2 separate regions of the Homo sapiens genome follow, and region 2 is linked to region 1. Evidence: promoter capture Hi-C in 16 types of primary human blood cells and fetal thymus (Javierre and others, 2016). All regions are on one chromosome and are shown on one strand. Each heading gives the region's core, a stretch centred on a gene start or on the middle of the fragment in contact. The rest is flanking DNA. Distances are from core to core; before and after follow the strand shown.

Evidence for each region. Contacts are between HindIII fragments. The CHiCAGO score rates a contact against its expected background, and 5 or more counts as called.
Region 2: a contact is called between a fragment that was not itself captured here and the fragment with the promoter of GPA33-AS1 in region 1, in 3 of 17 cell types (fetal thymus, total CD8 T cells and naive CD4 T cells). The highest score is 8.4, in fetal thymus.

Annotation. Positions count from the first base shown.
Region 1 is chr1:167,050,707-167,054,814 of GRCh38, forward strand. It overlaps GPA33-AS1 (GPA33 antisense RNA 1), which reads left to right and starts at 1,979. Exons shown (of 6, transcript XR_922249.3): 1 at 1,979-2,060. It overlaps GPA33 (glycoprotein A33), which reads right to left. Exons shown (of 7, transcript NM_005814.3): 7 at 2,130-3,760. The coding sequence ends at 3,628. The HindIII fragment of the contact is 1,060 bases long and covers 1,028-2,087 here.
Region 2 is chr1:167,565,204-167,569,388 of GRCh38, forward strand. No RefSeq gene overlaps it. Among named protein-coding and RNA genes, the nearest start is that of CREG1, 14 kb to the left of the region's middle. RefSeq lists an enhancer at 1-85. The HindIII fragment of the contact is 583 bases long and covers 2,514-3,096 here.

The DNA of each region.
Region 1 (4,108 bases), core at 729-3,228:
CAGGTGGACAGAAAGGCTGGTCTACTTGACAGCTATAAATAGCAAATTGACATTCTGTGTTGATCCAAATTGCTTAAATTCACTGTGTCTCAGCTTCCTCATCTGTAAAATGGGAAGAATAATAGCACTTATCTCATAGGGTGAAGATTATGAGATGTTCTATGGAAAAGGCCTAGAACAGTACCTGGCCCAGAGCAAGTGCTGCTGCTATAAGCATTGTACATCAGGCACTGTGAGCTTGGTTAATGTGACTCTGCATTTGAGAGCTGAGGCCCTGTCACTGTGTCACAAAAGCAGCTTAAGAACAAGACTTTTTGGGAGGGAGAGCATTAGGACAAATATGTAATGCATGTGGGGCTTAAAACCTAGATGACGGGTAGATAGGTGCACCATGGCACATGTATACATATGTAACAAACCTGCACGTCCTGCACGTGTATCCCAGAACTTAAAGTAAAATTAAAAATAAATAAATAAATAAATAACAAGATCCTGAAGAGTGGCTAATTTACCAAGCTGTGTATCAGTTCATGGATTCCTCTCTGGGCAGCCAGAGTCCCTCCTTAGGTGATAACATGAACACCTAACATTGGCATATGCCCAAGTATTTGAAACTGCGAGTGGGGATTATATGGAAAACTGTCTGAAGTGCCTAATAAGGGTTTATAGTACACAATCTTCCCTCAATTAATGGGTAGCATTTGTCTCTCTTCTAAAACACCATAAAGTCTTTGAACCAGCAGCTGGAAACCATAATTTGGGAAGGGATGCCTAACATTCTAAGGAGACTGCATTGCTGGGCTAATTTTGATTGTATAAGAACCTACAACAGTCCAATTCCCAGAGTCTGTGGACCGAAATAAATTCAGCAGGAAACTGTAGTCTTACTGAGTGATAATATGATTTGACACCCAAGTAATAGAAACATGCATTGGAGGACAGAAGAAATGTCAGCACCAGCCCTTTTCCACTTGTAAAACTCCTCATTCTTCTTCAAGATGCAGCCCAAATGCAACCTCCTCTCTGAAGCTTTCCTGAACTCCCTTAGGCTGAGTTACTCAGGCCCTCCTGTGTCCTGTAGCCCCTTCTCTTGCTCATGTAATTATGTTTCTATGTCTGTGACCGCCATTAGATTTTAGCTCCTCCTGAATAACAGTTTCTTAGTGACTTTTATATACTCTGCAAACAGCACACTGCTTGGCACGTAGTAGATGCTCACAAAATATTTGTTGTTGAATTAATGCAGTGGGTCTCGATTTCCCTCCTTTTCTTCCCTAAGCCTGGAGCTAAGGCAGGTGAACCTTCAGAGTCCTTTGAGGGGCAGAGAGAAGTCAAGTCAAACCTGGGGGAAGGTGGCCGCCTCTGCTTCCGTGGCTCCCTCAAGAACATGCTTGTGGAACCTTGCACCGTGAGGACTGGAAGGCACCTCAGAGTATCTAGAGAGCTAGGAGATGTCCTTGGGCAAGATACTGTGATACCAAATGTTATTCATTTAACAAACCTTTGTCAAGGGTCAACACATGCCAGGCCATAAAGAAGCTACAGTTCCTATCCTTACAAATCATACAGGGTGAGGCAGAGACAGACCTGTACACAGGTATAATAGGCACACAGTACTGTGTGACAAGTGCTCGGACAGGAGGGAGCACAGGAAAGGACACTGAAGAACAGACCTTGAATATCTCGCAGGAGAGTCCATGTCAAAGCCAAGAGCCCACAGCGGAGCGAAGTTGCCTTGGAGGAGGAAGCGTCACAGTTCTCTGTGACAGAACAAGAGGACTGCCCCGCCCCTTTCTCAGAAGGGGCATCATAGGAAGCAGAACTGGCTAGAGCATCTCCACCATCTTCCTTCAAGCACGTGGACCGACACCCAGGCCTCCTGGTGTCCTGACACTGCAGACTCCTGGAATATACCTCCACCAGCAGGCAGGAATCTGTCCTATTCCCAGCAACCACTAGAGGCACTGCCTGACCCTACTGCGGCCACAAGCAGAGGGACCCCAGGATTCTCAAATCTGTTACCTTGTCTCACCTCCCCTAGGAAGCAGAAGAGTGCTATGGTGAGTAGAGATGATCCATGAGACCCAAGCTTTATCTTACTGCAAACAAAATCCACATTAAAAAAGAAATAAGAATTTCCACCCACAATTTTATTATTACTGAAAGCATTTGGAATGAAGCAAAGGATTTAACAATATATATAAAAATATACATTTTTTAAAAAATCGCAAGTAGACAATAGATTTATGGAATTATTTTTCTGATCATCCAGAAAAGATAGCAATAGTAAACTGCAGTTGGGTGAGACCAGCCACTGGTCCATGAGACCTAAGCAGCCCTAACGCTGCCTGAGCTCTCAAGAGTAGAAGAAATGCTCGACAAACAGAAGGAGGCTGTGGGAGGGCAGCAGGACAGCCCCACCAGAAAACCAGAGCCCAAATGGGCTGGGCAGGGCCAGGGCTGAGGTATCGGGATGCAGGAACAACCAGGAACCCCATGTGGGTTGAGGAGACATGCCAATTATTCTGGCCTGGAGAGGAATTACCAGGACACAAGAACTCAGACCATCTGCAAGCAAGCTCCCTTGTGTGTGTTCACTTTAAATCAATTCGTGTTTAACTCACTGAATGAATACGTGGGTTTGGGTGGGAATCATCCCTGTGTCTACGATCATCTCAAGGAGACCAGAGAAGGGAAGGCACAACCAATCAAAGCAGTTTCCCCAATTAAGCTTAAGTGCCCACTAGGATGGGCGCCAGCTACTAGGGCTTCAGGGAAAGCAAAAGCCATGAGGCCCAGGCCCTGCCCCAAGGAGCTGGCGCTCTAATACAGTGAGAGCACTCGCTCAGAAGACTGTGCCTTGTGGCCCATGATTGGACGTGGGACAGAGTAACAGGATTGTTTCCACGTATGTGGACAATTAGGATAGGGTTAGAGAAATCCTTGTGATTTGAGATGGGCCTGGAGGGACAGGTACGATATTGACAGGCAGAGATGGAAAGTGTGTGGGCAAAAGCTCCCCAGGGCCTGTGCAGCAGGAGTGGGAGGTGGCCTTCCCAGGAGGGTTTGGAACATACTGGCAGCTACGGGAAGTGAGGTTGGAAAGGGAGTGGGAGCTGGAGGCCAGGCCAATGCAGGGCCCAAGCATACTCACTTATTCTTTCATTCATTCAAGAAAGATGTGTGGAGTGCAAACCCTCCACCTGGTGCCCCTCCAGGTGCTGGGCACACAGGTGAGCAGGACAGCCCCCACCCCCCAAGGCTGGCATCGCCTCCCTGGAGAGTTCTGAGTGGGAGCGCCCCATGCTCAGCGCTGTGCTTCCAGGAGCTCCTGCCAACTACGAGGGAAGTGGAGGCTGCAGCCTGGTCTTGAGTGAGGGCCAGGCCCGCACCAGGTGTCACAGCCAGGAGGGGTTACTTCACAGGACAGTGAGGTCAGCAGGATCAGCACAGGGACCCCCTTACCAGGCCAGCCATGTTCCCCACAGCTGACACTGGGGAAGAAATGTCCCCATCAATGTCTGGGATGGAGGGACAGGAGAACAGGGCTTAGAAAGGAGAAGGGAGGCCAGGAAGCGGGAGAATGAACCCCTAACCCTTCCTCCGCCGCCCTCTGCTGCTGGCCTGTCACTGGTCGAGGTGGTCCGGGGATTCACGCCCAGTGCTCCTCTGCTCTTCTTGCCTGTAGTCATCCTCCTCCTCCCTCTCTCTGGAAAGTTCTCTTAGCTGCTCTGGTGGCTCCTCATAGGCTTCCCGGTTCCTGCAGGGCAGCAGGGGACAGAGGGGAAGGATTTGCTCTCAGGTGGACCCTCAAGGGAGCTGGGCCTCATGTGCATTACAGGAAGAGCAGCCTCCAGACCTCCTCCCCACCCACCAGCTGCAGAGGACACTGGGCTGAAAGGCTGGGCTGAGAGTAAAGGTGCCACAGACTTGTTCCACGCATGAGCTGAGGGGGTTACAGGAACAGGCTGGCTTTACCAGCCCAGGAGGAACTGGCCCCGTGACAGGGGCTCCAGGCCACACTTGGCTCTAGTCATGCCACAGGAAGCCCGGCCCTGAGCTCCCAGACTGGAAAACCACAGGACTGGGAGGCAGGTCCTGGGGCTGC
Region 2 (4,185 bases), core at 1,555-4,054, 520 kb after region 1:
AACTCCATGGGAGGAGAAACTTGTCTGTTTTGTTCAGCTCGGAATCCCCTGGGCATAGAACAGTGCCTGGGCCACACAGGTGCACAGGCACTGATTGTTAAATGAATTAATATGTGGATGATTAAATTATGAGCCATGTTTTAAATCGGGGTGTCCACTTTTTTGGCTTCCCTAGGCTGCATTGGAAGAAAAATTGTCTTGGGCCGCTTGTAAAATACACTAATACTAATGATAGCTGATGAGCTAAAAAAAAAAATCGCAAAAAATTCTCATAATGTTTTAAGAAAGTTTACGAATTTGTGTTGGGCTGCATGCAGCCCACAGGCCACAGGTTGCACAAGCTTGTTTTAAATGTTTTTAGCTATGTTTCCTTCCATAGTTTCTATAACTTGAAGTACAATTTAAGATGATATCACTCTACATTCTTTTACTTCTATCAAAAGAATATATTCTTTCTATCTATGTGCCCCAGTAAGAAGCCCAAGAATTCTGGGCTGCTCTTCAAGCCATGGGGTCAGTTACGATTGCCTTGTACAAAAATAAATCATTTGATAACTGGGAAACTGGAGTCTTCTGCAGAGAGGCTGCATTCAGAGCCTGTATGTGGAGCTGTTGAGGATGCACAGGATCTCTTCCAGAAACAGGCAGCCTAGAGCCAGATGCAGGTATGGCTGGAAACTTGCCATTGCAAAGTTTTTCAGGGTGCAGGGATGAGAGGATACCCTCTCCCATGGTGTTGTCCTAAGCTGTGGTCCCTCTGTGCACCTGTGAGTCTGAACCCCAATGTGACAGCTCCTTGGTTACATAAAACTCTCAGCATAATCACCATGGCAAATATTTATCAAGCTCTGTGTGCCCAGTACTATTCCAAATACTTTCATGTACTATCTCACTTCATTTTCACATCAACTCTACGACATAATACCACAGGTCCTCAATTTCACATCCTCATTTCCAAAATTCAAAAAGCTCTGAAAACAGTCATTTGCCAGCACACCTTCCCTCGGTGAGACTCTTCATGTTTTTTATCCATCCTGTGCTCCGCAGGTGTTCCTATGTTTCACTGCAGAACTATGAATGTTGTGGAGGAAAAGCAACCGGAACACCATGACCGTAGACTTTAATCCAGACTGCCAGGCAGAAGCAGTCCCTGAAAGGAGTGTTCTCAAATACCTTGGGGGAGGAGGGAGGGTTTTTGGGTTTGTTGTTTGTTGTTGTTGTTTTTATTGCTGTTATAGGGCCTTAGCAGGGGGGTCAGCCTTAATTCAGGAAGTTCAGGAATAGTAGGTGAGGGATGGATTTTAGAAGAGAGAGGAATTCTTGCACATCAGCCACCATTGTTCAGGCAATTTGGATTTCATTAAGAGGGATGAGGAGGAGCAGTTAGGGGCTAAGGTCACGTGTTAGAGTGGGTGGAAGAACAGCTGTGGAGGACGAGGACATGCCACAGCCTCAGTGGAAACTTCTTGGTCCTTCGGTGTCTCTCAGTGTATTCGATTGCAGGTACTGCTCCAGACACCACTTTCTCTATTCTAGGAAGTTTCCCAGGCTGCCTCAAGAAATGTGAAATTCTTTTCTTTTCTGTGTAGTACATAAAATAGATACTTCTGGGCAGCTTCTTACCTTTCTCAGATCTGAAAATCCTGAATTCTGAGACACGTTTGGCCCAAGGGTCTTGGGTAAGGGATTACGAGCTCTTTTTCTCAGCCCCATCTTACAGCTGAGGAAACTGAAGCCCCTGGGGGTTACAGACCTTGCTCAAGATCTAGCATTTAGTGAGTAGACTAACAGACATCCTGTTTTCCACAAGTCACTCCCAGGTGCCAGAGAGGCTGGGTCAGAAGGAATGCATAGCCCCAGGTAGGTGCTGTGCCCAGAGGTGCCCTCCTCACGACCACAGCATCCTGTCCTGGGTGGGAGGTAGAGTCACTGCCCCTCTCCAGACAGAGGTCAAGGATGAGTAAAAATTCGCCCTGATGTTGCCATGTTTCCTGCTTCTCCAAGAGTTGGTGAAAGAGCCTGTGGTTGTTTTTCTCTCCACTTTATTTCCTTCCTGATAGACTTTCTTGGCCATTCACAATAATTTGTTTTTATTTTTTCCTTAAGGATGACATAGAATGTTTTTAAAAGCCTGACCCCTTATTGAAAGTAAAAAGAAAAATGCCTAAAGAGGGTAACATGCTCTGGCCAGGCCTTCAAGATCTGACAGGAAGACAAGGGCAGCCCCTTCCCACTGCAGGGCTTCTCTGGCCATGCAGCCATGAGGTCAACTCCCACTAATAAGCACTTTAACCCTCAATAAGCGCTCTCAATACTTCATGGGTAAAGATGGGCAAATGTTTTTAAAAGCAGACATGTTACAGAAATTTTTAGTAGGCCCCACCTCCAAAAAGCAAACAAAAAAAAAAACACTGCAGGAAGGGCTCCATAAAATGTTTATTTCACTGCAACCTCTTCGCAGAGCCTAGTTTTGTTCTACAAACAACGCAAACCACCTACATTCTTCACACATAAGCTTATTATGACCCTAAGTTTCATGTGGATTTCAAAAATGTGATTTTCTCTTTGGGAGGAGGCAGGTAGAGGTAAATTAACCTCCTTTCTTATTGCTGGCTTAGCTGCCCTGGAGGGCTGTGGGTTACGGAGTGACTTCATCAGGAGAACAGAGGGATGCTCGGGAAGAAAGGCTGGAGCAGCTCCTGTCTCAGCCGCACAGGGAAATGGATGCCTGACTTGCTGTATTATAATAGCAACGTCTCTGCAGGGAACTCATTTCAATACTTTATATACTGAACTTGCTTAATAAGAGGCTAGCATTTCTCAAAGAAATCAGTTTCAACTATGATTTTTTAAATGCTAACCAACTACAAAGTAACCCACAAATATCGGAGGGCTATACTAGTTATTTAAAACTTAGCAGCCTAGAGAGCCCCGTTTCCTTTAGTTTAGTTGTGTCACTTTTTCCTTTAACATTTAAATGGAAATATTTCATATGCTGGGCTTGGAAACTCAGCATTTCCCCACAGAATAACTGAGGATTCCCAGGGGTATATGCTGTTCACAATAGTTTTCTGCAAGATTTTTTATCTTGCTGGAAGCTTTCTCTGCTTCTTGTCCTGAATTAACCCAACAAACACTACTTTGCCTTAATTTCCCTGCAACAAACACTGCTCACCCAAAGCATAGCAGGTTTTTGTTGAAGATTTAGGGGAGGCGTTACATTGCCATGTACCACGGCAGATTATTTAAAATTGAATGTTTCAGTCTCTATTCTAGAAAGCTTCCCAGGCTGCCTTAAGAAACTTGAAATTCTTTTCCCTTTAATATGTACAATAATTTTGCTCAATGTCTTCTCTTAGCACAGCCAACGAGGCATGGCAGTATTTTTCCACAATAAAATGGCTTTCTGAGCATTTTGTTAAATGAAATATATTTCTTCTTTTAAATAAATTCTAGGGCCCATTTTAAAACTCCCTCTTTCACATTTACAAAATTTCAAAGGGAAACTTTAAGTAGTTACTCAGTATATGCTGATCAAATAAATTTCAAGCATACTGCTTAAATTCATCTTATTCCTCCATAGAAAGGGAGGAAAGCCTGGGGACAGTGGCTCACGCCTGTAATCCCAGCACTTTGGGAGGCCAAGGTAGGTGGGTCACTTGAGCCCGGGAGTTTGAGACCAGCCTGGGCAACAAGGAGAAACCCCATCTCTACAACAAATACAAAAAAAAAAAAAATTAGCTGGACATGGTGGCACACACCTGTAGTCCCAGTTACTAGGGAGACTGAGGTGGGAGGATCACTTGAGCCCAGAAGATCAAGGCTGCAGGGAGCTGTGAGCATGCCACTGCTCTCCAGCCTGGGTGACAGTATGAGACTGTTTCAAAAAAAAAAAAAAAAGGGTGTGTGTGTGTGTGTGTGTGTGTGTGTGTGTGTGTGTATAACATTTGTGTTTGTGTGTGTGGGAGGAACATCTGAGTGGGCATTTTGTGCCAAAGGTAATCATGTGTGCTATCTGTGGTAGGCATTATACTGTCCACCCAATATTTCTGGCTCTCTGCCTTCTGGGCACAAGGGGGGCCAACTTAGGGTTAGTGGGGCCATATGACTAGTTCTGGCCACTGAGATCTAAATGGAAATGACATGTATCACTTCCATTCAGACCCTCCAGAAGGCTCTTTCCCT